Linked DNA regions of Homo sapiens: regions 1, 2, 3, 5 and 6 are each linked to region 4. Evidence: promoter capture Hi-C in 16 types of primary human blood cells and fetal thymus (Javierre and others, 2016). All regions are on one chromosome and are shown on one strand. Each heading gives the region's core, a stretch centred on a gene start or on the middle of the fragment in contact. The rest is flanking DNA. Distances are from core to core; before and after follow the strand shown. Region 1 overlaps HS3ST4 (heparan sulfate-glucosamine 3-sulfotransferase 4). Region 2 overlaps AQP8 (aquaporin 8). Region 3 has its middle 12 kb from the start of ZKSCAN2. Region 4 holds the start of GSG1L (GSG1 like). Region 5 overlaps ZKSCAN2 (zinc finger with KRAB and SCAN domains 2). Region 6 overlaps HS3ST4 (heparan sulfate-glucosamine 3-sulfotransferase 4).

Evidence for each region. The method cuts DNA at HindIII sites, captures the fragments that hold promoters and counts their contacts. A CHiCAGO score of 5 or more calls a contact.
Region 1: a contact is called between a fragment that was not itself captured here and the fragment with the promoter of GSG1L in region 4, in 8 of 17 cell types (non-activated CD4 T cells, total B cells, total CD4 T cells and 5 more). The highest score is 14.7, in non-activated CD4 T cells.
Region 2: a contact is called between a fragment that was not itself captured here and the fragment with the promoter of GSG1L in region 4, in 1 of 17 cell types (non-activated CD4 T cells). The highest score is 6.5, in non-activated CD4 T cells.
Region 3: a contact is called between a fragment that was not itself captured here and the fragment with the promoter of GSG1L in region 4, in 1 of 17 cell types (non-activated CD4 T cells). The highest score is 5.8, in non-activated CD4 T cells.
Region 5: a fragment that was not itself captured here is called in contact with the fragment with the promoter of GSG1L in region 4 in 3 of 17 cell types (naive B cells, total B cells and activated CD4 T cells); the score reaches 11.0 in naive B cells.
Region 6: a contact is called between a fragment that was not itself captured here and the fragment with the promoter of GSG1L in region 4, in 8 of 17 cell types (naive CD4 T cells, total CD4 T cells, naive B cells and 5 more). The highest score is 13.9, in naive CD4 T cells.

Annotation. Positions count from the first base shown.
Region 1 is chr16:25,844,309-25,849,214 of GRCh38, forward strand. All of the region lies in intron 1 of HS3ST4 (heparan sulfate-glucosamine 3-sulfotransferase 4), which reads left to right. Among named protein-coding and RNA genes, the nearest start is that of HS3ST4, 150 kb to the left of the region's middle. RefSeq lists a silencer at 296-553. The HindIII fragment of the contact is 8,837 bases long and covers 1-4,906 here.
Region 2 is chr16:25,224,529-25,229,532 of GRCh38, forward strand. It overlaps AQP8 (aquaporin 8), which reads left to right. Exons shown (of 6, transcript NM_001169.3): 4 at 1-48; 5 at 2,540-2,674; 6 at 3,916-4,404. The coding sequence ends at 3,964. Among named protein-coding and RNA genes, the nearest start is that of AQP8, 10 kb to the left of the region's middle. The HindIII fragment of the contact is 230 bases long and covers 1,328-1,557 here.
Region 3 is chr16:25,267,115-25,271,789 of GRCh38, forward strand. No RefSeq gene overlaps it. Among named protein-coding and RNA genes, the nearest start is that of ZKSCAN2, 12 kb to the left of the region's middle. The HindIII fragment of the contact is 6,566 bases long and covers 1-4,675 here.
Region 4 is chr16:28,061,413-28,066,394 of GRCh38, forward strand. GSG1L (GSG1 like) reads right to left here and starts at 2,302. Exons shown (of 7, transcript NM_001109763.2): 1 at 1,664-2,302. The coding sequence starts at 2,012. The HindIII fragment of the contact is 8,058 bases long and covers 1-4,982 here.
Region 5 is chr16:25,241,819-25,246,116 of GRCh38, forward strand. It overlaps ZKSCAN2 (zinc finger with KRAB and SCAN domains 2), which reads right to left. Exons shown (of 7, transcript NM_001012981.5): 6 at 1,967-2,458. Among named protein-coding and RNA genes, the nearest start is that of ZKSCAN2-DT, 14 kb to the right of the region's middle. The HindIII fragment of the contact is 2,160 bases long and covers 436-2,595 here.
Region 6 is chr16:25,825,699-25,830,580 of GRCh38, forward strand. The region is part of intron 1 of HS3ST4 (heparan sulfate-glucosamine 3-sulfotransferase 4); the gene reads left to right. It also overlaps the pseudogene LOC100420641. Among named protein-coding and RNA genes, the nearest start is that of HS3ST4, 140 kb to the left of the region's middle. The HindIII fragment of the contact is 862 bases long and covers 2,257-3,118 here.

The DNA.
Region 1 (4,906 bases), core at 1,068-3,567, 2.2 Mb before region 4:
TCATTCAACTAGAAATTTATTTTTATTCATCCAGGGATTCTTTACTGAGTGCTAGTTTATCTGAAATTTTATTTTATTTTAAAACAACATATCTTGGCCAGTTTTCTATATTAGTCCTTGTAGTTGCTCTTATTCCTTTTAATTTCTGCTAGTGGTTATTCATGTAGCCATTTCTTTAATGATGTTCATGAAAAGCATTTCCATTTTTATATCTTACAGAGTCTGGTAGTGATCATTTGTGAACATGAATCTTTGAGCACACACACACAATAGGAACGCTTTTACACTATTGGTAGAAATGTTAATTAGTTCAACCATTGTGGAAGACGGTGTGGCGATTCCTCAAAGATCTAGAACCAGAAATACCATTTGACCCAGCAATCCCATTACTGGGTATACATCCAAAGGAATATAAATCATTCTATTACAAAGATGCATGCATGTGTATGTTCATTGCAGCACTATTCACAATAGCAAAGAGATGGAATCAACCCAAATGCCATCAATGATAAACTGGATAAAGAAAATGTACATATACACCAGGGAGTACTATGCAGCCATAAAAAGGAACAAGATCATGTTCTTTGCAGGACATGGATGAAGGTGAAAGCCATTATCCTCAGCAAACTAATGTGAGAACAGAAACCCAAACACTGCATGTTCTCACTTATAACTGGGAGCTGAACAATGAGAACACATGGACACAGGGAGGGGAACATCATACACTGAGGCCTGTTGGGGGGTGGGGTTGGGGAGGAAGAGCATTAGTAAAAATAGCTAATGGATGCTGGGCTTAATATCTAGGTGATGGGTTGATAGGTGCAGCAAACCACCATGGCACACCTTTGTTACCTATGTAACAAACCTGCACATGTACCCTGGAACTTAACATAAAAATAAAAATTAAAAATAAATGTAGGCCGGGCACGGGGATTCATGCCTGTAATCTCAGCACTTTGGGAGGCTGAGTCTGGCAGATCGCCTGAGGTCAGGAGTTTAAGACCAGCCTGGCCCACATGGTGAAACCCTGTATCTACTAAAAATACAAAAATTATCTGGGCATGGTGATGAGCACCTGTAATCCCAGCTATTCTGGAGGCCGAGGCAGGAGAATCGCTTGAACCTGGGAGGTGGAGGTTGCAGTGAGCTGAGATCGTGCCACTGCACTTCAGCCTGGGCGACAGAGCGAGACTTCATTTCAAAACAACAACAACAAATGTAAGAATCTAAGAAGAGGAAATGCTGGGTCAAAGAGAAGACCCATTTAAAATTTTGATTAATTGGTGCCGAAAAATTGACTTTCAAAATGATTGTGCCAAGGAATCCAAGGAATAGCATGTAATAATAATAATAATAATAATAATAATAATAATAATAGAATTCCCTACTCTCTCAAAGCCTGGATATTGTATTTCTTTCTTTCATTCTCTTTGTCTTTCTCATTCTCTCTCTTCATTTTTGCCAATCTGGAGGCTGAAAAATGCTATCTCACTGTTTTATTTGTCCTTTCGAATAAGTTTATTCTTATAAATTTAATGCACATTTATTTGTTCCTCTTTTTCTCTGCATTATCTATTCGGACCTTTACTCATTTTTCTATTGGGTTGTTTGTCTTTGTGTTAGGGTCCCTGTTTTGCTCTTATTATGTTACTGTTCGTATTTGGAGTTGTCCCCTGCAAGGAACAAAGAGCTGGATTAACAGTGACTTAAACAAATAAGGATTTATTTTTCTTCCACAATGAGAAGCCTAGAGGTAGGAGGCTGTTGGCATTTGCTCTGTAGCTCAGGCTTGTCAGCAGTGCGGTCTCTTTCTTGGCTTTTTCCTCTTGATCGTAAAGTAGCAGTGCCAGTGGCATCTGTCCTTTTTATCAGAAAGCTAAAGCATTCCCAGAAGCTGCAAGGAAGTTTATGCCTAGAATGGAGGTAGGAAAAGTCAAAATAAATTGGTGAGGAGTTTTGAGTTGACTAACCAGCAGTTCCTGCAATTTTGGTATTAATACCTTGTGTTATTTGTTAAATTGTGTTTTGTAACCTGGGCGACACAGTAAGACCCTGTCTCTACAAAAAATAAAAAATGTAGCTGGGTGCAGGGACAGGTACCTATAGTTCCAGCTACGCAGGAGGCTAAGGTGGGAGGATCTCTTGAGCCCAGGAGTTCGAGGCTGCAGTGAGCCATGATCACACCACTACACTCCAGCCTGGGCAACAATGTGAGACCCCATCTCTTAAAAAAAAAAAAAGTTGTATTTTTTTTTCCCCAGTTTGCCATCAATATCTTAAGTTTGTAGTATCTTTCAGCCCACAGATATTTACATCTTGAAGGCAGTGAATTCTGTTATATTTGTTTATAATTTGAGTGTTCATTCTTTCTATAACAGAAAATTAAAAAAATTTTCTAATATAGCCATAGTTTTGATTATATATATCTATATTTTTAATCAATCTATAATTTATTTTTATATGCAGTCTGATGTGGGAAAATACTTCTCATTCCCCCAACAGTGGAGATGAAGTTTTCTCAATACCGTCGTCAAGTTTTCCGCATGTGCACTGCATGATCTGTTTTGGTACTATCTGTTGTGTTCCACTCATTCATCTCTGTACTGGAATCCTATTCTTTTAATTACTACAGCTTCTTATATAGTCTAATGCTAATGTCTAAAACAGCACATACACTTCCTATTTTGCTCTCCCATCAACACGAGTTTTTTTTTTTTTTTGACTCTTTTTTTCACATTTACAGGTAAATTTTACAGGCAGTTTATTAGCTTTCTTTAAAACATCATATTGGAATTCTTAGCAGGATTACATTGAGACAGTAGATTAATGTATGATGTTTCAGTCAAGGAACATGGCATGTCTTTTAACTTATTTATTGTTAAATGTACTTTAGTAAGTGTGTGTAGTTTTTCTTCCATCCTATACATTTTTGTTAGGTTTATAACTAGATATTTTATATTGTACCTGGTTCATAATTGGGATCCCCCCCATATAAATTGTTATTAATGCTTAGGAGAACTATTGATTTTTGTCTGCAGTCAGCCACCTTAAATTATTTTGCTATTAATTTCAAAAATTAAGTTGAGTTTAGTAGTTTTTGTTGGGTCAAGAATGATAACACATGCAAATAGTGACAGTTTGTGACTTTCTTTACAATTTAACTCCCTTCAGTTTTGTTTGTTTTTGACTTGGTGCAATGTCTAGAATATCTAAGACAATGTTGAATGTTAACCGTGATAATCAACTTTTTAATCTAATTCTTTATTTTAATTGAAATGCTTATAGTGTGTCACTCCTGAATATATAGTTGTAGTAGATTTTTGCTAATACTCTTTATCAGTTAAAATAAAATCTGTTTCTAGATTGCTGTGAACTCTTCCTGGGAATTCAGGTAGCTCTTTGTCAAGATTTTAAACATTTATTAAGGTGAACATATAGGGTTTGTCCTCTTTTAAAAAAGAAGGTGGCTAATTTCAGAAATCCTAATGATGGATCATTATATCATTCCTGAGAAAATCCTATTTGGTTCTGTCGTTTCATTTGGTTAAGACATTGCTAAATTAAAATTACTTATCTATTTGTTACAATTTTTGGTATTTATATTTATGTATTTAAATTATTCTTTTGAGGGTCTTTACTGCTGGTAAAATACAATTTGGTTTTTGTATCAGTTTTATGTTTGTCTTTGAGAATGATTTCAACAACTTTCTTTTTCAGTGTTCTAAAATAATCACAGTGAAGTACAGATTACATATTGTGAGAATGTCAGTAGAACTCATCCATAAAACTATATGGGTCTGGTGATTTGGGAGGGTTAGGTATTTGCTAACTTTTTTTTTTTATTTTTTGAGACAGAGTCTTGCTCTGCTGCCTAGGCTGGAGTGCAGTGGCACGATCAAGGCTCACTGCAACCTCTGCCTCCCGAGTTCAAGCAATTCTCCTGCCTCAGCCTCCTGAGTAGCTGGGATTACAGGCGTGTGCCACCACGTCCGGCTAATTTTTTGTATCTTTAGTAGAGATGGGGTTTCACCATGTTGGCCAGGCTGGTCTCAAACTCCTGACATCAAATGATCCGTCCGCCTCAGCCTCCCAAAGTGCTGGGATTATAGGAGTGAACCGCTGTGCCCAGCCTAATTTTAAACGAAAAAATAATTTTTTTTTTTTGCTTTTTCTAAGCCCTTTTTGAGTTTACTTTGGTAATTTAAAAATCCTTAATAATGATCCATTTAATCTAGATGTTCAGATTTATTGATGTAAATTTATATCTAGTATAAACCTCTCCCACATTTGTAGTTATGCCCTCTTCATCATTCTGAAGATTGTTATTTGTGCTCTCTTTATTTCTTGCCAGGTCTTACAGAAGTTTGTTTATTTTATTGCTCTTTTTACAGAGCTAGCTTTTAGTTTCATTGCTGCAAATTCCTATTTTTCTTTTGTTTTCTGTTTCATTTATTTCTGCTTTTATCTTTATTCCTTCTCTTTTTTTTGTTTTACTTTCTTCAGTTTTTTTATTATGGTTTTCATGGTTCCTTTTCCAGCTTCCTGAGTTGAATGTTTAGTTCATTTATTTTCAGTCTTCCTTGTTTTCTAATACATTTAAAGTTGTAAATTTTCATCCAAGTACTGCTACATTCCATAATTTAGATATGTAGGGTTCCAGTTGTTCGTTTCTAAACAGGTTGTAATTTCGGTTTTGAATTTCTATTTAATCCATGAGTTATTTAAAAAACTGTTTTAAATTTCCAAATAGATGGTTTTGTGGTGGTGTTACTTATTTTTGGTTCTTGGCCATCTGTTTGTTAATAATGTCTACATTTACTGTGTTAATTCTTCTATGTAGCTTTAACATTTTTGACTTCTTTTTGAAATTTATTGAGATTCTGTTTATGGCCTAATAAAGACTGAA
Region 2 (5,004 bases), core at 193-2,692, 2.8 Mb before region 4:
GGCCCCGTTCTCCATCGGCTTTGCCGTCACCGTGGATATCCTGGCTGGGTGAGTGTCCCTTGGCAGTGGGGTGACCATGCCCAGATCTGTGCTGTTCAGCTCTGGGGGATTTCAGGCCTGAGGGTCACAGATTCAGTTGCTATTAGGGGCCAGGAAGGTGCTGCAAATGGGGAGGGGGGCTGGCATCAGGCAGACAACAGGGAGTGGTGGGGACTGCAGTGTCAGAGGTGCTGCAGTCAGTTCAGCTCTTGTCAATTATTGCTGGGTACATGGGTCTGGGCTGATGCTTTCATTCAAAGGAAGTCAGAAATTTAAATCTGTATGTGATGTTTTCCAATGTTGGTAGCGTAAATACAACATTTCTGTGAACTGTGTTCATTCGGTCAGCGGGCAGCCGGGTTTTAGCCTCAGGCTTACAAAGAGCATGTGTAGCTGTTGTCTCATTTATTTTTAGACTCCCAGCAGGCTTTGGAAGGGATTAAGTAGACAAGATTGGGGATGATGTCTCCCGTTTTATAGATAAGGAAACTGAGGCTTAGAGAGGACAGAAGTGACTTATTTAAGGTCAGTGGGCAGTGGCAAATTAAGTGATAGATTTGGGACAAGAGGCTGAGTGAACCCTTTTAATTTTTGTTGTAGAGATAGGGGTCACGCTCTGTTGCCCAGGCTGGTCTTGAACTCCTGGCTTCAAGCCATCCTCCTGCGTTGGCCTCTCAAAAGTACTGGAATTACAGGCATGAGCCACAGTGCCCAGCCCAGGGAGCCCCTCCCTAATGTCTGACTCTTTCCTTTCTTTTGGACACAGAACCAAGTCTAACCTTTCTCCTGGGTCAGCTCTCCCTCAACTTTGGGAGGTGGAGCCTGGGGCAGGCTGGGGAATGTGTGTGTAAAGCTGTGGCCATGCTTTGCTGCCCCCTAGTGGTCTTTGATTCACTTACAAGCCCTTTTTTTTTTTTTTAGCTCCGCTTCCCGGGTTCACGCCATTGTCCTGCCTCAGCCTCACGAGTATCTGGGACTACAGGCGTCCGCCACCACGCCCGGCTAATTTTTTTTTGTATTTTTGGTAGAGACGGGGTTTCACCGTATTAGGCAGGATGGTCTCGATTTCCTGATCTCATGATCCGCCCGCCTTGGCCTCCCAAAGTGCTGGGATTACAGGCTGAGCCACCGCGCCCCGCCTACTTACAAGCTTTTTGACTTCGAAGCTGGACACAGGGTGGGGATGAGGTCTACAGGCCCCCAGCTGGAGAGAATGGGGTAAAGACAGAGCCCCAGAACGAGAGGAGTGCACCTGGGGAAGAGTCTCCCTGTAGGATTCTGGGTCTTAAGCTTGTGGTGCAACAAGGGCCTCATCTGGACCAGCTAGATTAGTTAATGCTTTTTGTACATTAATTATATTCGAGGTGTGGGCTCCATTTGCATTTTCTCATTCACTCCTGATGACAACCTATGGGATAGTCACTTTCACCTCACCTGAACACAGAGAGGTTCATGGAGGTTCCCACACCTAGAACTATCTGGGCTGGGGTTTTTCTTTCTTTATATGTATATTTTTAAAGCTTTGTGGGTGAACCTAGTAGGTGTATATATTTCTGGGTTACATGAGATGTTTTGGTACAGGCATGCAATGCATAATTATCACATCAAGGTGAATGGGGTATTCATCCCCTCAAGCATTTATTTTTTGTGTCACAAACAATCCACTTATACTCTTCGTTATTTTATTTTATTTTTAGTTTTAGTTTTTGAGACAGAGTCTTGCTCTGTCACCCAGGCTGGAGTGCAGTGGCATGATCATGGCTCACTGCAACTTCCAACCCCCAGGTTCAAGCAATTCTCCTGGCTTAGCCTCCCCAGTAGCTGGGACTACAGGCGTGTGCCACTATTCCCAGCTAACTTTGTATTTTTAATACAGACAGGGTTTCACCATGTTGGCCAGGCTGGTCTCTAACTCCTGACCTCAAGTGATCTGCCTGCCTTGGCCTCCTAAACTGCTGGGATTTCAGGCATGAGCCTCTGTGTCTGGCTGAGGTTACATGAGATGTTTTGATACAGGTATGCAATGTGTAATAATCACGTCAAAGTAAACGGGGTATTCATCCCCTCAAGCATTTATTCTTTGGGTCACGAACAATCCTATGATACACTTTTTGTTATTTTATAATGTGTGGGCTGGGTTTTGAATCTAGGTCAGCTTGACTCCAAAAGGATTGAAACTGATTGACTTTCCTTTGTAGACTTTGGAGCAAATGTAGCTCCAGCTTCTCTTCCTGCCATCACCCAGTAGGCATTTTTGCTGGGCATTCTAGAGGAGTGTGTGGGGAGTGCTGGACTGCACGCCCAGCGGGGAGCCATGCCTTCTGCTTCCTGGTGCTAATAGCCCCTCTGCCTTCTTTAGGATCTACCCAGGAGCTCATGATGTAGGAGTTTAGAGAGGGTTTCTGGGTGGTGTGTGACTAGGCCTAGTTGGGGACATGAGTGTGAGGTGAGGTGGGGTTTGGCTGGGATCCTGGTGACCTTGGTGCCTGGGTGTTTGCAGGGGCCCTGTGTCTGGAGGCTGCATGAATCCCGCCCGTGCTTTTGGACCTGCGGTGGTGGCCAACCACTGGAACTTCCACTGGATCTACTGGCTGGGCCCACTCCTGGCTGGCCTGCTTGTTGGACTGCTCATTAGGTAGGAGTGTGACACAGGGTCACCGGCCCATTGGATGGGCACTTGGCAACATCTCCCAGAGAGTCCGGGACTAGAGGGCTAGGCTCTCACTTGGGTTTGGAAGAGAAAAGAGGGAGCCTCTTTAGAGGCAAAGAAAATGGCTCCATCTAGGAGCTTTGGTTGCAAGTGACAGAGATCTATTTCAAAATAGCTTATGTCATAAAGAGGAATTCATTGGCTCACATCATCAAAAACTTCACAGGTAGCAGTGGTTTCAGGTGGCGCTCAAACAATGTCTTTAGGACTTGGTCTTTCTCCTTTTCTTTTTTTGACAGTTTCCCTCTGTTGCCCAGGCTGGAGTGCAGTGGTGTGATTCTGGCTTATTGCAACCTCCGCCCCCGGGTTCAAGAGATTCTCCTGCCTCAGCCTGCCAAGCAGCTGGGACTACAGGCGCCGCCACCACGCCCAGCTAATTTTTATATTTTTAGTAGAGTCGGGTTTTCACCGTGTTGACCAGGCTGGTCTCGAACTCCTGACCTCATGTGATCCACCTGCCTGGGCCTCCCAAAGTGCTAGGATTATAGGCATGAGCCACCGCGCCCAGCCAGTTTTTGTGATTTTTTTGGTAGAGATGGGGCTTCACCATGTTGGCCAGGCTGGTCTCCAACTCCTGACCTCAAGTGATCTGCCTCCCAAAGCGCTGGGTTACAGGCGTGAGCCACTGCACCCGGCTTCATTTAATTCTGGGCTTTCAGAGTGGCAGCAATGAGCATCTTCAGGAAAAGGGTTAGAAACCAAGCAGGACCCGGGCATGTGGTTCACGCCTGTAATCCCAGCAGTTTGGGAGGCCAAGGTGGGTGGATCACTTGAAGTCAGGAGTTGGAGACCAGCCTGGCCAACATGGTTAAAACCCTGTCTCTACTAAAAATACAAAAATCAGCCAGGTGTGGTGGTGCTTGTCTGTAGTCCCAGCTACTCGGGAGGCTGAAGTATGAGAATTGCTTGAACCCAGGAGGTGGAAGCTGCAGTGAGCTGAGATCATGCTACTGTACTCCAGCCTGGGTGAGTGAGACTCTGTCTCAATTAAAAAAAAAAAAAGAAACCAAGCAGGAAACTGTCTCTCTCTCTGCAAGGGGATCTGGCTATTAAGGCTGGGGAGGCTCAGGAAGTCATCTTTCTGGAGACTTCTGAGCCTGGAGACATGACGAAGGGCTGGGTCTCACCTCCGGGGCAGAGACCTTACTGGGTCATCTTTCTTGCAGGTGCTTCATTGGAGATGGGAAGACCCGCCTCATCCTGAAGGCTCGGTGAAGCAGAGCTCGTGGGATTCCTGCTGCTCCAGGTGTCCTCAGCTCACCTGTCCCAGACTGAGGACAGGGGAGTTCCTGCATTTCCTGCCAGGGCAGAGGCCCAGAGGAGCGACCCCCTGCTTCCACTGCTTGGGCCTGCTTTCTCAGATAGACTGACTGCTGAGGAGGCTCTAGGTTCTTGGAATTCCTTTGTGCTCATCAGAGACCCCAGCCTGGGGAACACGCTGCCCGCACTGCCCAGAGAGCAGTGCAAACACCACAACACGAGCGTGTTTCTTGAGAGGAATGTCCCCGAGTTGGACAAGGAGGCTGTTTCTGCACATCAGCTCATTTCCCGCACCCCATTTCTTGCTTGATTGCTTTGTTGGGGGCCTGGCCACTTCCTTGCTTCTCAAGCTGACAATTCTCACTTTGCAATAAATAGTCCAGTGTTTCCTTCCACGTGCTCACTGGCTTGCCTTTCATTTGAGAAATGGGCACTGCTGAGGAGAAAGCAAGCAAAAAAAAAAGTCTGGGGTTAGGCCTTGGCTGGGGTTAGGCCTGAGCTGATCCCACAGCCCAGCTCAGAGTCCTGGGCCATGGCAGGCTCTTGAAGTTGAGGCCAGACCAGAGCCTGTCTCCACTTGGACGGGCCCATCCTGGAGCTCTGTCTGGAGCTCAGAGTGCATATTGAGTCCAACTTGGAGTCTAGTCAGAGTCAATTCCAGATCACAGACCTCAGGACCCTGCTGAAAACCCCCAGGCAGAGTCCAGGGTCTGGCTGAGTGCCCAGTGCTGTCCCTACTCGAGTGCTTGGTGCTGTCCAGGACATGGGTCAGCCCATTCATTCACTCTAGGTGGGGAGGTGGGGGGGTGGGTGGGATTGGGATGGGCTGCAAGAATTTCCTGAGGAAATATTAGGTTGGTGCAAAAAAAATTTTTTTTTTTGAGACAGAGTCTTGCTCTGTCACCCAGGCTGGAGTGCAGTGGCATGATCTCAGCTCACTTCAACCTCTGCCTCCCAGGTTCAAGCACTTCTCCTGCCTCAGCCTCCCAAGTAGC
Region 3 (4,675 bases), core at 1,486-3,985, 2.8 Mb before region 4:
ATGGCAAAGTCATGGAACCAACCTAAGTGTTTGCCAGTGGTTGACAGGCAGAAAATGTGGTGGGCTGGACATGGTGGCCTATGCCTGCAATCCCAACACTTTGAGAGGCTGAGTCAGGAGGATTGCTTGAGGCCAATACCATCCTGGGCAACATAATGATAAAAATAAAAATAAAAAATTAGCCAGGTGTGGTGGCATGCACCTGTAGTCCCACCTACTAGGGAGGCTGAGGTGGGAGGAGCACTTGAACCCAGGAAGTGGAGGCTGCAGTGAGCTGTGATGGTGCTATGATGGCTGGTGGAGTGGGACCCTGTCTCAAAAAAGAAAAAAAAATGTGGCAGATCTATAACATGGAATATTACATAGCCATAAAAAGGATGAAATCATGTCCTTTGCAGCAACATGGATGGAGCTGGAGGCAATTATCCTAGGTGAACTAAACAGAAAATCAAATACTGCATGTTCTCACTTATAAGTGGGATCTAAACAAAGGTTACACATGGACATAAACATGGAGAGAATAGATTTTGGGGATTCCTAATATGGGGAGGGTGGGATGGGGGTGAAGGTTGAAAAATTACCTATTGGGTACAATGTCTGGTATTTAGGTGATAGGTCCACTAGAAGCCCAACCCACACCATTATGCATGTAATACCCTTGTAACAAACATGCACATGTACCCCCAAATCTAAAAAAAAAATCAAGTGAAGCACAAGCAAGGAACAGCTGCAAGGAAATCAAAGTTCCTTATGTGCAAGCCACACTTTTATTGGGTGCTCCCACTTTGCCTCTGTGAGTCCCTAGAGAGGTCCAGTGTTCCTCTTGGGGGATTCACCCAATTAACCATGTGCGTGTAGACAAGGGAATTTCCCTGGAGGCAGGGAAGTCCAGGTTGCTACTTGTCTAATAGCTAAAATGTATTGAATTTTTATTATGAGCCAGGTATGATTTTGACTATTTTATATGCAATAACTAATTTCGTTCTCATGCCAACACTGGGAGGTAGATGCTATCAATATTCCCATTTACTAACAAGAAAATTAAAGCAAAGGGAAGTAACATGCCCGAGTTCTTCTAGCTGCTGAGTAGAGGATCCTGGATTCAAATTCACGTGACCTGACTCCAGAGTTTGTGCTTTTAACCATTACTTTATGCTGCATCTAACCCTGTTATTTTAACTTACAATGACTGAAAAAGAAGGCAAATAAGCTCATTTAATTATCAGAAAGGACTTAATGCTCATCATTGCTAGTCAGGAATAGATTGAGAATGTAGAGGCTGCTGCCAGCATCTCTTTGTTCTGTGCATTACCTGTCAGGCTGAGTTTGCCTTTTGTAGACACAAGGAAATTCCCTTTATCTTGATTTCCATCCCTCTATTATTTTCTAACAAGGGCTCCAGCCTTTATCTGCACCTGCTCCTTTTTATCTGTCTTGATAAGACCCATTTTCCCCGAGTTCTCGCATTTTTCAGAGCAGGGTACCCAAAGACCATGAAACCTCTATGGCTAATATTGGTCAACTCTCATAGGATAACTTTCATGTATTATACTAATTATCTTCTTCCCGCTAGGAAAGAAGTTGAAGAGGAGGAACAATGGAAATGAAGGGGTTAGGGGATAGGATCTTGCCCCAATAGGATGGGATAAAGGGGCTGTGTGATTAGGTAGAGCCATGGGTTCTATACTTCAAGACCAGAATCTCAGGCTGGGATTCTATGAGTATTTCCTATAAGAAATGCTATAGAGGCCAGGTGCAGTGGCTCATGCGTGTAATCCCAGCACTTTGGGAGGCCGAGGCGAGTGGATCACCTGAGGTCAGGAGTTTGAAACCAGCCTGGCCAACATGATGAAACCTCGTCTCTATGAAAAATACAAAAATTAGCTGGATGTGGCGGTGCTTGCCTGTAATCCCAGCTACTCGGGAGGCTGAGGCAGCAGAATCGCTTGAACCCAGGAGGCGGAGGTTGCAGTGAGCTGAAATCGCGCCATTGCACTCCAGCCTGGGCAACAGAGCAAGATTCCATCAAAAAAAAAAAAAAAAAAAAAAAAAGCCATAGAGACTTGGAGTGGCTTAGAAACAGAAAATGGCAAATAGCGACCTTGGCCAGATGTGCCTGGATTTGAGTCTGTGAACTGCCCATTTTCCACTGTTGGCCCAGGACTGAAACAAGCATGTGTAAAAGGGGCTGACCGGTTATTTCCAAGTTAAGTAAACTTCTCCCTCTTGTCGCTCAGCACATGAGTTCGTATGGGAGGTTGAGTATCATTCGTGAAATCCATATCCTGATGTTGGAATCCCCGATTTTTTTCTCTTATGAACACTGTCAGATGGTGCCAGGCTGTCCCTCCAGCCATCTGGTTTGGTTTGGGGGTCAGAGGTCTGGCAGTGTCTTCATGTATGTGGCTGATTCTGTGCATGTCTTGGGAGTTTGGGTAGGTGTAAGCAAGTAGGCAATTAACTACCCAAATCAGGAGGTCTGAGAATGGGCTAGTGGACAGAGCAGGAGCATTGCTATCTTGGACAAACCCCACCATTTTAAATTCCCCTTGATTAAAAAAAACCTGCCTAAATCCAGCCCCCAAACATCAGCCTAATGGCTAATGTTAGCATAACCAGAAACATTCCAACCCTAAGATAAACGCCACTCCAACCAGAAACATGCCGACCCCAAGATAGCTTCACCTCCAACCAGAGACTTTCCAACCCCATGATAAACTTTCCCTCACATCGAAACATTGCGAACCTACGATAAGCTCCCCACTTCCTATATCCTTAAACATCTTTAGTCTGTAAGAGAGAGTGCCCCCGATCAAAACTGGTCAGAAACCCCTCAGGTTTATTCTCCAAAAGAAACTGACTTTGAATGTTAAGCTGCTTTTCATGTTTCTTTGCTCTTTAACTCTTACACTAGTGGGTCATTTCCCAAGTGTGATGCTATCTACACTAGTTTACCATGGTTGCTGAGAAGATAAAATATATGCCTGGACCTGTTGTTAGTCTACTAGGTTGCTGTAAGGAGAGTCTTCCAAGAATGAGGCAAGATAAAAAAGCAGAGGGTGCCACAGAGTTTGAAGTCATTATTTGAGCTCCTAGATGCAACTGCACCTGAAACTAGACCCCTGTCTCTAGGTTTTTGAGCCAATATATTCCTTTGCTTTGCTTAAGCCACTTTGAATTCAATTTCTGTCACTTGCAACCCACACAGTTCTGACTGATATACAAAATAAACATATTACATGTTATCTTCTGTGACTCAGAAATTATTATCCATTTTTACAGATGAGGAGTTGGAGTTTTAAAGGTGCAGGTAACTTGCAGTGAAAAGCTAAGGTCTGGCACAAGGTTGATCTTGAATCTGAAGAAGAAATGGTTCAAAGTCTCCTTTAGAGATGCTACCTTCCTGCTGCTCACTTCCAGAATTTAGTCAGGGAATTATTGGGCTGACTTGAGTTGTTGTGTATACAGTCTGTGAACTTGCAGTTTATGGTATTTTATAATTTTGTTTTCCCTGCCGTTCTGCTAATGCAGCTTTGTGAGCAAACATTGCCTGTGATTTAAATCCACCACCGTAATGAAACGCACACACACACATGCACACACACTTCCTTGGAACAGTCCACAGCTCTCTGATTAATCACATGTGTACAGTACAGTGTTTACAGGAAATCAGCAGGTGGCAATTAGCATCTTGGAAATTATCTGGGAAACACAACTGGAGCTGCCACTTCAGGATGGAAATGTGGCAACAACCGGCAAAGTGACAAACCCCTTGGAGTTGGAAATGAATGGGGCTGAAAGCGCTGCCAGGCACACAACAGCTGGTGGGGGCAGCCCGGTGTGGACTGCAGACTGCCTGCTAGCTTCTTCCTTTTCTTCCCAACGCGTAAGAAGCAATCCTTGAGTAGAGACATGTAATAGATGCTCAGACCTGGCTGGACATGGTGGTTTATGTCTGTAATCCCAGAACTTTGGGAGGCTGAGGCAAAGCCATGAGTTCAAGACCAGCCTGGGCAACATAGTGAGACCCTGTCAGTGCCCCCCCACCCCCCAAAAAAAAAAATTACCCAGGTGTGGTGGGGCATGTCTGTAGTCCTAGCTACACAAGAGGCTGAGATGGGAAGATTGCTTGAGACCAGGAGTTTGAGGCTACAGTGAGCTGATTGCACCACTGCACTCCAGCCTAGGTGGCAGAGTGAGACCCTGTCTAAAAAAAAAAGGAAATGTTTTCAACAATGACCAAATGGAATGAAATAATGTTTATTCAGTATGTATCACAGTATCTGCCACATAATTCTCAATAAATAGTAGGTATTTTCAATTATTATTTAGATCAAGGCACAGGCAGACACTGGCATTACTGTAACACTTGTTAAAATATTAAGCTATTTCCATATCAGTTGGAAAACAGCTGCTTTCTTGAACCCTCTGAGTGGCTCCCCACTGCTGCCCTCCCTTGGGAGCCACACTCTTCCGGATCCAGTGATCAAAACGTTAACGTCTCAATCCTGCTCCAGCGATAAGTCCAGTGTCCATTCTGATTGGTCAGTTTCTGTGCTGTCAGGACTCTTACTGCTCAGGAGTTTCAGTGACCACAAGAGAAAGCAGCAACACGAGGATGGATGTACTGAAAGGAGTGAGGAGAGGAAACAGTGCCAGTCTGTTTTATACATGA
Region 4 (4,982 bases), core at 1,052-3,551:
ACACCATGTATCTCTGACAAACGGCCAGCCTGGCTCAAGTCACAGAAAAGTTTGGTCAGCCACCCCCAGAAGAGAGACAGAGGAGGCAGCACCGCAGGAAGCCTCCGGTTCATCATCCCAACCCCATCCAGTATGCACCCGGCAAATGTTTATTGAAGACCTACTATGCGCTAGACATTACTGGGAGGCAGCAGTGAACAAGACCAACCGGGCTGGCCCTCACAGAGTGACATCCTATGGGGAGTGGGGACTATAAGCTAGTGACCAAAAACAGGCCCCAGAAAATGTCAGGGAGTGCCAAGTGTGGCAGGGAGATAAACGCAGTGGTGAGATCCAAAGATGGAGACCCTCCCTCCAACGGGGAGCTCACAAGGTTGTCCCTCCTCAGTATCCTGACATGGAAGGCAGGTGGGAGAGTCCCAGTGAAAGGAGCCCCTGAAGAAGGAGGTGGGGCGGGGAAGGGCATTCCAGACAGAGGATGCAGCCTGTGCAGAGGCCTGGAGCTTTTCACTGGGTTCGCTTCACAGCTTCCTCCCTCTGCCCTCTAAACCACTTAGGCCACTGGCTTATTTAGGGCAAACTAAGGGTGGAGGTCTGCTGTAACCCACCCTTGAGCACACACATATGTGTGGTGTCCACACTGAGGAGCTAGGCATGCAGGGAGGAGTTTTAACCTTGGAGAAAGAGGTCAATTCACTCAGGAGGGTGTCCATGCCTGGACACCCGCTCAGAGATACCACGTCTTTCGGGCCAGCTCTACCTGCTGTGTGGCACAACCAGCTGTCCGGCAGCTGTCCCCTGGGCCCTGCCACAGCCCGGCTGTCTGCCTCCAAAACACGCACTCCAGCCCAGGCTGCCTCTGGAGGGTAGAGGAGGGGGTCCAGGCAAAGGGGACAGTCTGATCTGCCTTCTGAAAAGTCAGTCCCCCACCGAACCTAATAGGAGCCTTGTGCTAAGCTAAGCCCTCCTGGACTCCTCGACCCGGAGTTTGCCCAGCTGTCCCCAGTTCCCTAGCCTGCCTCTCCCAGGAGGGGGCCAGGATACAGAGGGCTCCCTGGCGTCTGGCAATAGGGGTGCCTCTGGGCGGGTGCGGCTTTCCGGGAGCCCGCGGGACTCCCCCACTCCCCACTCCCGTCTGGGAGGTTCGGCGTGGGTTGGCGATGGGGGTGGAAGGCTCCCGGGTCTGTGGATCTGCGGCAGGAGGGGCGGCTGGTAGCAGGAGTCCCTGCATCACCCCCACCCCCAGGGGCGTTCCGGGGTGGGTGGGGGCATCTAGTGCCCCGCGAAAGGAAGAGGAGGAGGGGGCGAGCGTGGAGATGAGTTCAGGAGCGGAAAGCAGCGCGCGCCCCTCCGACCGGCAGCGGGGGTGGGCGCCTTCCCGGGGCGCGGGAGCGTCCCCAAAGCCGCGGGGCGTCCGCAGCGGGTAGGAGCTCTGCCTTGCACCTCTCCACGGCGGGGCGTCCCGCACGTCCCCCCATGCTGGTCCCCGGCCCCGGAACGGCGCGCGCCCCCTGCCCCGGAACGTCGCCCCTAGCCAGGCGGAGCGCTGGGAGCTGGGCCCAGGCGGCGGGAGGAGGGCGAACGGGTCCGGGGCTCGGGCCTCGATGGCCGCGCCGCCCCGGGGGAGCCGGAGCCGAGCTGGCCGCCGCCCGCGCGCACTCACCAAGCCCGCTGAGCTCCTCCTCGCACGAGTACCAGATGCCGGTGTGGAAATTCCTGAAGAGGAAGCGGTCGTCGCCGGTCTCCCAGCTGTAGAGCGCGCCGCCAGGGGGGCCGTTCCCCGAGGCGGTGGCGGCGGCGGCGGCGGCGGCGGGGGCGGCGGTGCCGTTGGCCGTGGCGTTGGCGCCCGAGTTGGGGCAGTTGGCGCGCCCGCCCTGGCCGCAGCCCGGCTTGGGGACCCGCTGCGTGCCCTGGCACCAGTGCGTGGTGAGGAAAGCGGTGGTGGCGAACAGCAGCGCCAGCAGGTTCAGGGCCACGGCCAGGAGCGCTCGGCCGCGGCGGCTAGTCTTCATGCCGCCCGCGCCGCCGGGACGGGACTGCACCGCCGGGGAGCTCCGCGCGCGAAGTTGGCAGCTGGCGCCCCGCGTCAGCGGCCGCTGCCCGCCGCGCCCCGGGGCTCGGGTGCCTGAGATCGGCGGCGGCGGACGCGGCGCGGGCCCATGCCCCCCCCAACCCCGGGGTGGGGGCGCGGCGCGGGGGGCGTGCGGGGCGGGCTGGCGGGGCGGGCGGCGGTGGAGGAGCGGCTACGGCGCGCCCGGAGCCCGGAGCGCGAGTGCACCTCGGCTAGGAGCCGCTGGCGCCTGGCAGCGGCCACGGCGCAGGGACGCGCGCCCCTCCGTGGGGAGACACCTGCAGGCGGCCGGCGACACTGTTCCGGAGCCCGCCCGCACGGGGAGAGGGGGCCGCCACGCCGGGCGCGGGCGGGGGCCTGGGAGTGGAGGGACGCCCCCGAAAGAAATCCGAGCCAGGGTGAGGGTCTGAGACGCAAGGAGAATCCCAGGCAAGGCGCTCCTGAGAAAAGATCCCCACGGCGGACGTGGGGCAACAAAACCCGCCGGGAGCGGGCATCTCATGAGACCCAGAGAGGCCCTGCCCCAGGAGACAAGGGCAGAGCCTGCTGGGGCTCCCCAAGAGGGACACGGACCAGCAGGACCCTGTCCCAGAAGGGGATCCCCAAAAGGACCCCCGCACCAGACCCTGAGAAAGGAGTTTTTCCAAAGGTTCTAAACAGCAGAGCCTGCAGGGCTTCCCACAGCCAGGGAGCTGCAAGACCCCCTGGATAAGACAACCCATGCTGGACTTGGAGTGGCAGAATCTGTCAGGAGGCGCCCCTCCTGGAGTATTGGGTTATAGGGTTTGAAACGTTTTTCTGTCTCCTGGGTGTCACCTCCAGCATCTGGGAAGAGCTCCCCTCCAAGGATGAAACTGTCATCTGGGCTCCCAACCATGGCATGCAACTGCAGGAAGAGTGGCAACAGGGTACCCCAGACAGCCCACTGCACCCACCTGAGATCCCAAACAGCAGAACCCTAGGAGGGCCCATGCCGGCCACAAAGTTATTGCAGCTACCAGGCAGTGGTGCCCTACAGGGGCTGCCAACCCTGCTCACATGCACACCATGTGAATGTGGGTAGAATCTTCAAGATTCGGGTGGGGGCAGGGTGGCCAAACATACTGACTTTGGGATCAAGCATATCTAGGGCTTGACCAGCTGTGTGGCTTTGAACAGGTCACTTACCCTCTCTGAGCCTCAATTTCCATAACTATAAAAAAGGGAGGACCCCCCCCCCTTCAAGGTATATCACAGTGGGCTGCTGTAATGAGATCATGGCTGCAAAAAGCATTTGGCACACAGTAGACTCAATTAATAATTCACTGTTACTGACATCTGAACCAAGATCAGTTGACCAAACTCAGACAAACCTCTTCAGGCTCTCCTGTGCAACGTGGAAACTGTGTGCAACCCCGTCCCCACCTCTGCTCTAAGATGACCACGCTCCCTGAACTCCCTTCGCGCTGCACAGCACTTACTGCCCAGATGCTCAGGGCGTGCAACAATTAATTGCATGTTGATTATAAGAGCTCATTTGAATTCTGCCCAAGCTGAGAACTGCTCCGACAACCCCCGGCTTGCCGAGTGGCAGGCCTTGCAGAATTCAAGGTTAACCGATTATGAATTGCCTTACTCCTGTGGGTGAGCCGGCACCCACTGTCAGCTGCTGCTAATCTGCCGGGGGGTAGGTGAGAGGAAAACGTTGTGGGCAACGTCCCTGGTAAGAGCAGGCACGAAGGATGGCCAAGGGTCTCCAAACTTGCTTTTAGAGCCCTTTTCTGGCACTGTGCAAGAGATTCTCAACTATTTTGAAAGAGAGGACCTCCATGTGATAATGGTGGCATTGAGAGTATTGGTTGACAGAGAAAATACATCATCGCCAAACAGCTGTAAAGAATCCAGTAGCATCTTTTTTTTTTTTTTTTTTTTGAGATGGAGTCTCACTCTGTCGCCCAGGCTGGAGTGCAGTGGTGCAATCTCAGCTCACTGCAACCTCCGCCTTCTGGGTTCAAGCGATTCTCATACTTCAGCCTCCCGAGTAGCTGGTATTACAGGCGCTTGCCACCACGCCTGGCTATTTTTCATATTTTTAGCAGAGACGGGGTTTCACCGTGTTGGTCAGGCTTGTCTCGAACTCCTGACCTCAAGTGATCTGCCCGCCTCGGCCTCCCAAAGTGCTGGGATTACAGGCATGAGCCACCGCACCCAGCCTCCAGTAGCACTTTTAAACTGGCATGCAGTATTCATCATGAGTGTCTGTGTACCAATGAAAACCAGCCCCTCGATGTGTGCTAAACAGGGTACTTCTTTGGACTCGAGGCTGTGGTTGGTGTGCATGTGAGCAGGGCTCGGTGACCTACAGCTGGGAACCCTGTCCTGCATGTTCAAAGCCAGGAGAGCCCAGGTGAGATATGTCTCAGGGACCACACTCTCTCAAGAAACACCTGAGGATGCACAGAGGGATTTGGAATTTCCATCTAAGATGCTCCTCCACTCACTGAGCCACCCACTGAATGCTCAGCACTGGGAAGAAAAGAGAACGTGAACAAAGTTCGTAAGAAAGAACATCACTCAGAACTTTGAGAGGCCGAGGCGGGCAGATCACCTGAGGTCAAGAGTTCAAGACCAGCCTGGCCAACATGGCGAAACCCTGTCTCTACTAAAAATACAAAAATTAGCCTGGTGTGGTGGCGCACAACTGTAATTCCAGCTACTCAGGAGGCTGAGGCAGGAGAATCCCTTGAACCCCGGGGGCAGAGGTTGCAGTGAGCTGAGATCGTGCCACTGCACTCCAGCCTGAGCGAGAGAGCGAGACTTTGTCTCAAAAAGAAAAAAAGAAAGAACACTGCAGAGTATGCAGGGGTGAAAGCCAGGGAGAGCAATTCAGCAGGGAGGGATCAAAGTGGGGATGGCTTCAAGGAGGGCCTCA
Region 5 (4,298 bases), core at 266-2,765, 2.8 Mb before region 4:
GGGGAGAGGAGGGCAGCCATCAATCAATCTAGACACTTAAGTAAAAAGCCCTAACAATTCCATCTTTCACTTATTAGTACTTTTTTGGTCACCCAGGCTGGAGTGCAGTGGCATGATCATAGCTCACTGCAGCCTTGACCTCCCAGGATCAAGTGATCCTCCCACCTCAACCCCAGAAGTTGCTGGGATTACAGGTGCACACCACCACTCCCAGCTAATTTTTTATTTTTTGTAGAGATGGGGTGTATGTTGCCCAGGCTAGTCTCAAACTCCTGTGCTCAAGCGATCCTCCCACCTTGGCCTCCCAAAGTGTTAGGATTACAGGTGTGGGCCACCACACCTGGCCTGTCAGTACTTCTTTTGAAGTTTTCTGATTGAGTTCAACATTGTTCTGCGATTTGGAGGAAGTCACAACCTAGGAGTTGGCTCAGAGAAAGCTTGATAATTTGATGATAGGTTTGGAGCTCACTTTAAAAACAAGATTCACAAGGACTTTGTTTCCAGTTATCAAAGCCAGGGTTCTACAGGACTTAATTCAAGCCTTCATACTATAATTTCCCATATATATACTAAGCTAGAGTCACTTGCTTCAATAAACTAGTCCTGAATTACCCTGCATATTCAACTGATTGCCGAGGGCTTAATCTAGTGTTATGGGAAGACGGAGCTCCTGTCCTTCAGGAGCTCACCATGTCTGGGAGATCTTACATACAAAGTGTTCAGTGCCATAAGACAGAGACAGACAAAGTATGGGAGGTGAGAGAGAATTTGGACATGGAGATATGTAGAGCCAAGGACATTCAAGGTGGAGGGAACATCGCAAGCTAAAGTTTGGATGTGAAAGAGCTTGAGGTGCATGTAGGAAATAGCCAGTAGTTCCGCTCTGAATAAGCAGAGTTGAGGAAGGAAAATGCTGACATGTAGACTAGAAGAGTAAGATGAGCTCAGATCAAAAATGGCTGTGAAACCTTAATAAAAGTGTGGGTGGAGAAAACTGGTTTGGAGGCTTTTACAACAGTCTAGGCAAGAGAGAGAGAAGACTGAACTAGACAGTGGCTAATGGTAACTGAAGAGGGGACAGATAGACGTGATAGTCTGGATGAGGGCGGGAGCCCACAGGGAAGAGCCGTGGTGTGGTAAGGAAGATGGTGAAGTTAGTTTTGAACATCTTAAGCCTGAGTTACTAGTGACAGGCCCACGAGGGCGTAAGTCAGTGGGAAACATGCAGGTGGAGCTCAGGACCAGAATAAAGTCTTTTATTTAGTCTCTGCCTATCTTTTTTGTCTTGCACACCCCATATAACCATAAGATATTCTTCTTTTGTGCTTACTGAAACACTTTCTTCATCCAAGTTTTTTCTCATGTGTAATTCCAAGTTTTTCTTCCCCACGGTACTTCCAGGAGATACAAAACACTGTCTGACCCATACCAACAAAAACCAAGGCTGAGAACCCAAGGACTGAGTCACTCTAACGTGAGTTCCTCCTTTGAATAGAAGCACCATGAGAACAGGAACTTTGTTTTTTTCAGATGGAGTCTCACTCTATCACCCAGGCTGGAGTGCAATGGCACGATCTCGGCTCACTGCAACCTGCGCCTCCCAGGTTTCAAGTGATTCTCCTGCCTCAGCCTCCTGAGTAGCTGGGATTACAGGTGCCCGCCACCACACCCAGCTAATTTTTGTATTTTCAGTAGAGACAGGGTTTCGCCATGTTGGCCAGGCTGGTCTTGAACTCCTGACCCCAGGTGATCCACCCGCCTCAACCTCCCAAACTGCTAGGGTTACAGGTGTGAGCCACCATGCCAAGAACATCACTGCTATATCCCCTGTTCTTCAAGTAGCACAGGCACTCAAATATTTCTTGAATGAAGGAATATTCATGAGCTATGTGCAAGATCTACTCATTTTTCAGTAAATCACACTTATTCCTCTTTTGGACTAAAACTCCTTGGTTTTGCACCTTACCATTTGGGCTCTGCAGTAGACCTGGAGGTCCCTGGAACTCTGGCTCTTGCACAATTTCCTCCTCGCTCATTCTCTCACTGCAAGAGTCTTCTATTACTGCCTCCTGTGAGGTCTCTTCAGGTTCCCAGCCTGTAGGTTCCTGGGGTTCAACCTCAATACCCCCTCTTTCTTGCCTTGAAGGTGATGGGACTTCCTCTGGGGTGCTGGGGGAAGGAGCAGATGCCCGAGAGTTAATCAGGGCATCCATCTCCTTGTAGAACGCGCAGGACTCTAGCACGTGGCCATTTTTCACCTTGCGGTAACTCTTCTGAAGGCTTTTGAACTTGGTTCGGCACTGTTCTGGTGTCCGGAGGAAGCCGCACTCTCGAAGCTGTTCAGCTACAGCCCCATACAATTTGCTCTTCCGATGACAGGCTTGAAGCGCTTCATAAAACCGAGTCTCACGGAGGATATCAAGAAAAGTCTTGGTTTCTTCATAGCCCCAGTGCACGCCTGCCATTTGGGGATAAAGTTCACAATGTAACAAAGAAAAGGAGTCTCTAGCCTCTATACTATATACATTAAGAAATGTAGAGGTAAAAAAAAATCCCATTCACAGTGGCAACAAGAACTACATATGCCTAGGAATAAGCTTTGCAAGAAATGAGAAGGTCTATATCAAAATGTGTAATATCATAAAACTAGAAAAAATGACAAGACACTGTTTATGAATAGGAAGACTCAAGGTGTACAGATATCATTTCTCATATGAATCTATAGTCAAAATCCCATTCAGATTTTTAAAACTGAAATCGGTAAACTAATCTCAAAGCTTATTTGGAAGAATAAAAATGCAGTCCCCCAAATCTGCCATTGCTATGGTGATTAACTAAATGATTTAGTTCTCTAGAAGTCTCTTTCCAAAGTGGTTAAGAATAATGACTAGAATTTCCAATAGGAACTTTCCCCCTCAAATTTCCTACCACTTCTGTAAGCAGTCTTCCTTGAGGAGCAGAACTATGTTCAGAGTAGTTTTTGGATGTCATTGAATCCTCTACTTTGAGATGAAATGATCTGTAAGACAAGACTATGTTCTGCATTTATAGCAGAATAAAACTTTTCAGGGCATATCTAAATATAATTTGTAAAACATGCTTTTTGTATGTTTTGTAATCTATTGTAGGAAAAATCTCTATCCTCTATCTTACTAGGTGGTTTCTTCCAGGCCTATGACTGGATTCCCATATTTGAGACCACCCCAAGAGTCCCAGCCTCATGTTGATGGATTTTCAGATTGGTGAGACCTGTCTAGGCATAATGCATCTTCCCATCTTAGCAGATGTTTATTTTTTATTTTTTGAGACAGAATCTCAGTCTGTTGCCCAGGCTGGACTGCAGTGGCACAATCATGGCTCACTGAAGCCTTGAACTCCAGGGCTCAAGCGACCCTCTCGCTTCAGCCTCCTGAGTAGCTGGGACTACAGGAGTGTGCCACCATGCCTGGCTAATTGTTTTATTTTTTGTAAAGACGGAGTCTCGCTGTGTTGCCCAGCTGCTCTCAAACTCCTGGCCTCAAGGGATCCTCCCATCTCAGTCTCCTAAAGTGCTAGAATTACAGGTATGAACCACCACATCCAGCCAGATATTTCTTTTGAATGGGTTTAGTCATGGATACATTCCCTAGCCTGATTTAGTTTTCCATTCTATGTAAGAATTTATAGGCTGGGTGCGGTGGCTCATGCCTGTAATCCCAGCACTTTGGGAGGCCGAGGTGGGTGGATCATTTGAGGTTGGGAGTTTGAGACCAGCCTGACCAACATGGTGAAACCCTGTCTCTACTAAAAATATAAAAATTAGCCAGGCGTGGTGGTGGGTGCCTGTAATCCCAGCTACTTAGGAGGCTGAGGCAGGAGAATTGCTTGAACTCACCCAGGAGGAGGAGGTTGCAGTGAGCCGAGATTGCGCCACTGCACTCCAGCCTGGGTGACAGAGTGAGACACCGTCTCGGAAAAAAAAAAAAAAAAGAATTTATCTCTAGCTGGAGTAAAGAAACATTACTAATAACAGTGATACCAGGCAATGCTGTATTATATTTTAGCATTTTCACAGTGCCTTCATTTATATTATCCTATTTAACACTAATAACAACCCTATGAGGTATTCTTAGCCATATTTTACGGATGAGAAAATTGAAGCTCAAAGTAGTTACGTGATGTGTCTACTGTCACACAGTTATTAATTGGCGATTTAATTCTGCATGTCTCAGTCACAAAATATTTAACACCAGCTCTCTTTTGCATGGTGTATCTGTCTGCCTTTTTAATTTTAATGTCTCTGTATTATATTTAAGGTG
Region 6 (4,882 bases), core at 1,438-3,937, 2.2 Mb before region 4:
TATTCAGGCTCTGGATGTCCCAGATAATGATGATATCATCTGCAGAGCCACTCTAGGATTTGGTCTCTGGATGCAAAGCTTCATCATCATACTAGCATTTCTTCTAGTGTATTCTGTCACTGGAGTTGGTAAATGAGGCCCATACTTTGATGTTTTAGATGAACCGCTGAAGAGTAGATCACTCATGGAATAGTTGTGACAGGTGGTGTCCTGGTGTCCCACCAGAAATTCTTTGCCCTTTAAAGTCTCTAGGGTCTTAGAATCTTAGGATCCCCCTGTGTAGGTATGTGTTTTCCTGGGATATTTCATCATTCAGCTTGGGCACATCCCACAAGAGCTCTATAGTGTCTTTGCTGAGTCTTAGGATCTCATCCAATATGACAAACTTGAGGTGAACTTATTCTCCAGATGGCTTGTTTTTTCCTAGAACTTGCTCATTATGGAGCTCAGAAAGATGATCTCCTGCCCCTGCTGGCCACGTGCATCTTGTAGAAATGGCCTTTTTTCTGCTACAGAATTTCCTTCTGGACCTCAAGAACTCCTTCAGGCTTCAGAGCAGCATAGCTTCAAGTATGGGTGCAGGTGCCTCTTGTAGGTGTCTGTTCCTCATAAACTTGCACCCATATTTGGAGTGTCTCCAACTACAGTCACGTTCTGAGGTACTGGAGGTTAACTTAAACACATAATTTTTCTTTTTGGTGGAGAGACACAATTCAGTCCATTGCATGCAGATAAAGGGAGGACATGGCTCATAGAGGCCTGGAATTTCCCCCTGGTGGGTCTAGTGAAATGGGGAAGGGGTTGGGTGGCAAGGATATTATTGAGGAAATCAAGGATATCAAGGAAATCAAGGATATTATCAAGGAAATTGCAAAAATAAGAACCATGGACCAAATGCACCTAGCAAGGGAAATGAACATGTGAGGAGTGGGGTGGGGCTAGGGCACTATAAAAAAAAGGAAGATAGTCTAGGAACCAGTGACAAAATGTCTTGGTGAGGTCAACAAAGGAAGCAGTTGAATCGTCAAGTTGGAGGGATAGGAGCCTGTGGCTGAAGGGAGGCATGATTATTTTAGTAATTTCCCGGGTGATTTTAATAGCTTTCATGGTATATAATTTCCATGAGTGGGTTTATCTCTTTATAAATCAGACATGCTTGCCCTTTTCAAGTCTTCCAGAATGTGCCATTTTCAAGACAGTGATGATCCTCAGTATTACCTCCAACCTCAGTGAAAAGCTGCAGTCCTCGGTGTGCCTTTGTTTGCAAGTAACAGAGGATCATTCAAACTAGGCTACAGAAAAAAATAAAAAAGAAAAGGAAGGGCACTTTATTATATGGACTCAAAGATAGAAAATGGAAGTTAATAAGAAATAGAGCCAGACTTCTCAAGAGGCTAGAACCAGAAATTGAAAACCCAGCAGGGACGAGACACTAGGACCAATAATCAGAAAGCCATTGAGATCCAACGTAGCTGCTCTCAGACTCTTTCTTGGAGCCATTTGGTCTTTCTGTGTGTCAGTTGCATAGAAAGCCACACGGTCCTACAAACTGGCTTTCTCCTTGTCCGAGCCAGTAAGGGATCAGCTCCATAATAGTGTCAGAGTTTGCAATTCCTTCGTTCAAGCAATAAGCAGAGAGTGACTGCCATCCATACCCTGATCGACACCTGCAGGTGTCTATGACCCAGGCAGATGTCATTTAGGTGGGACAGGGAAGGCCACAGCATTCACTGACAAGTCAGAATACAGTTCCCCAAATTCCTTTGAAGACTTTCCTGTCTTTCAAAACTTACTGTTAATTGTCAATGTAATAAACAGAATAATGCTGTCTTCACAAAAAAAAAAAAAACAACAACAAGCTTTTGGTTTCTATCTTAGCGGAAATCAGTTATTTACTGAAGTAATCATTTGGACATAAAGTCCCAAAAAGAGGTTCTTAGAATAAAAACCACCAAGGATGCTACATTTAGCATATTCTCGTTTCTCCCTTACATTAGATAATTTTAAAGTTTAAACTTTAAAATGGTAAAGTTTTAAAGTTTCCTAATTTGTAGAAATTTCTTTCAAGAGTCAATCTGGCCTACTATGTGCCAGATTGATTTGTGAATTTTAGCTCATTTAATATTCACAAGATGCTTCTGTGAAATTATCCTCCATGTTAACAGATGAGGAAGCTTGTCACAAGCTACGGAGCTAGCAATCAGCAGAGCTCGTGTTGAAACCAAGTTTCAGATTCAGAAGATACTAAGTGAGGAAAGCTTCTTTATGAGGAGAGGAGGTTTCTTTTTTTTTAACTTCTATTTTAGGGTCAGGGGCACATGAGTAGATTTCTGATAGAGGTAAATTGTGTGCTGCAGGATGTACAGATTTGGTGTACAAATTATTTTTTCACCTAGATAAAAAGCATAGTACCTCATAAGCAGCCCTTCCCTCCCTCCCTCCCTCCCTTCTTCCTTTCCTTTCCTTCCTTTCTCTCTCTCTTTCTCTTTCTTTCTTTTCTTTCTTTCTTGCTTGCTTTCTTTCCTTTCTTTCTTTCTTTCTTTCTCTTTCTTTCTTTCTTTCTTTCTTTCTTTCTTTCTTTCTTTCTTTCTTTCTTTCTTTCCCTCTCTCTCTCTCTCTCTCTCTCTCTCTCTCTCTCTCTTTCTCCCTTTCTCTCTCTCTTTCCAGCGTCTTGCTCTGTCATTCAGCCTGGAGTGCAGTGTCATGATCTCAGCTCACTGCAACCTCCGCCTCCTGGGTTCAAGCAATTCTCCTGCCTCAGCCTGCCAAGTGGCTGGGACTACAGGCACCCGCCACCACAGTCAGCTAGTTTTTGTATTTTTAGTAGAGATGGGGTTTCATCTTGTTGGCCAGGCCAGACTCGATCTCCTGGGCTCAAGCAATCCACCCACCTCAGGCTCCCAAAGTGCTGGGATTATCGGTGTCAGCTACTGTGCCTGGCCCCCGATAAGTAGTTTTTTGATGCTTACCCTCTTCCTACCCTCTGCCCTCCAGTAGGCCCAGGTGTCCATGTGCAAACATACTTGAGGTTCAGCTCCTACTTATAAGTGAGAACATGTGCTATTTGCATTTCTGTTCTTGTGTTAGTTTGCTTAGGGTAATGGCCTCTAGCTAGAGAAGCTTTTTTACTAGTCAGTTTTGTGAACTTGGACAAGTGATTAAACTTACTTGAGCATTAGTTTTCCCATCTTTATGGTGGATCATATGAAGAACACTATAAGGTTCATGTGAGAATTTAATGCACGTGAAAGTGCCTGTTGGGGTCTTCAAGGCAGCTTGGGTTGAGCAATAAATAGCATTCCTCTCTTCTGCCTGAGTTCTAAATAAAGACCAAGAAGTGACAGACAGAGGCAATCACGTTATCTTTATTACTGACCAAGGGCAAATGGGGAATACGGCTTAGTGTGCAACAAGTGTGTCTCTTGGCTGAATTCCCACATGAACATTAAGGTTGTTACCTACTTAGGCACAGACAGATAACACTTGATTGGGAGAAGCCTCCCTTCATGGAGACTTGCCTAGAATAAGAATTTACTGTATGAAGGAGCAGAGGAGAAACCCTACATCCTTTGGGCAGCTTGCTGCCTAGAGGAGAAAAGACATTTTGCCCTAAATGTGACAATCAGGAAAATCACTTCATTTCTATCAGGGCAGAGTAGGCACATGGGTAGAGAGAAGCCAAGAGTATTTAAAATACACTATTTCATTTTTATTTTTTAATTTTACTTTAAGTTCCAGCATACATGTGCAGAATGTGCAGGTTTGTTACGTAGGTATACATGTACCGTGGTGGTTTGCTGCACCCATCAACCCATCATCTAGGTTTTGAACACTGAATGCATTAGTTATTTGTCCTAATGCTCTCCCTCCCCTTGCCCCGACCCTGCAACAGGCCCCGGTGTGTGATGTTCCCTTCCCTGTGTCTGTGTGTTCTCATTGTTCAACTCCCACTTACACGTGAGAACATGCAGTGTTTGGTTTTCTGCTCCTGTGTTAGTTTGCTGAGGATGATGGCTTCCAGTTTCATCCATGTCCCTGCAAAGGACATGAGCTCATTCTTTTTTATGACTGCATAATATTACATGGTGTAAAATACACTATTTTAAAAAATTATTTATTTATTTTTATTTTTAATTTGTTTTTGAGTTGGAGTCTTGCTCTGTCGCCCAGGTGGGAGTGCAGTGGTGCAATCTCAGCTTAATGGAACCTCTGCCTCTGGGGTCCAAGCGAGTCTCCCACCTCAGCCTCCCAAGTAGCTGGGGCTACAGGCACACACCACCACGCCTGGCTAATTTTTTGGATTTTAAGTAGAGACGTGGTTTCGGCATGTTGCCCAGGCTGGTGTCGAGCTCCTGAGTTCAGGCAATCCACCCCCTTCAGCCTCCCAAAATACTGAGATTACAGGCATGAACCACCACACCCAGCCTAAAATACATTAAATGGGCTCTTCCACATGGAAAAAAGCCTTAGTTGAAGAGATAAACTGTTACTTTTTTATAGTGCCTGGAAGATAGTAGACAATAAAAGTTAGCTAAAAACAGAACCAAAGTGGTTATCAATGTAAGATCAGTGCACGTTTCACGATGCCACATTTACATTGCTTTTCTTTTCTTTCTTTATCCTCTTTCACCATCTTGGCTTTTGTAAATTTTATCACCCCAATGGAGATTTCTTGTTTGAAGAATCATACGATGTGTCCTGAGCCTCTGTCTTGCCCACATCTTCTGCTTACAGGTTCTCTCCTCTGCAGGGGGAGGCATCACCTGTTCTTCTCAGAACCCCAGATTTAGAGCTCTGACCCCTCTGACTACTTCTCTGAGTTTGTCCTTCTATATCCAATGACTAAGTTGACTTAAAGATGTCGCCAGTGTCCCCAGTGTCC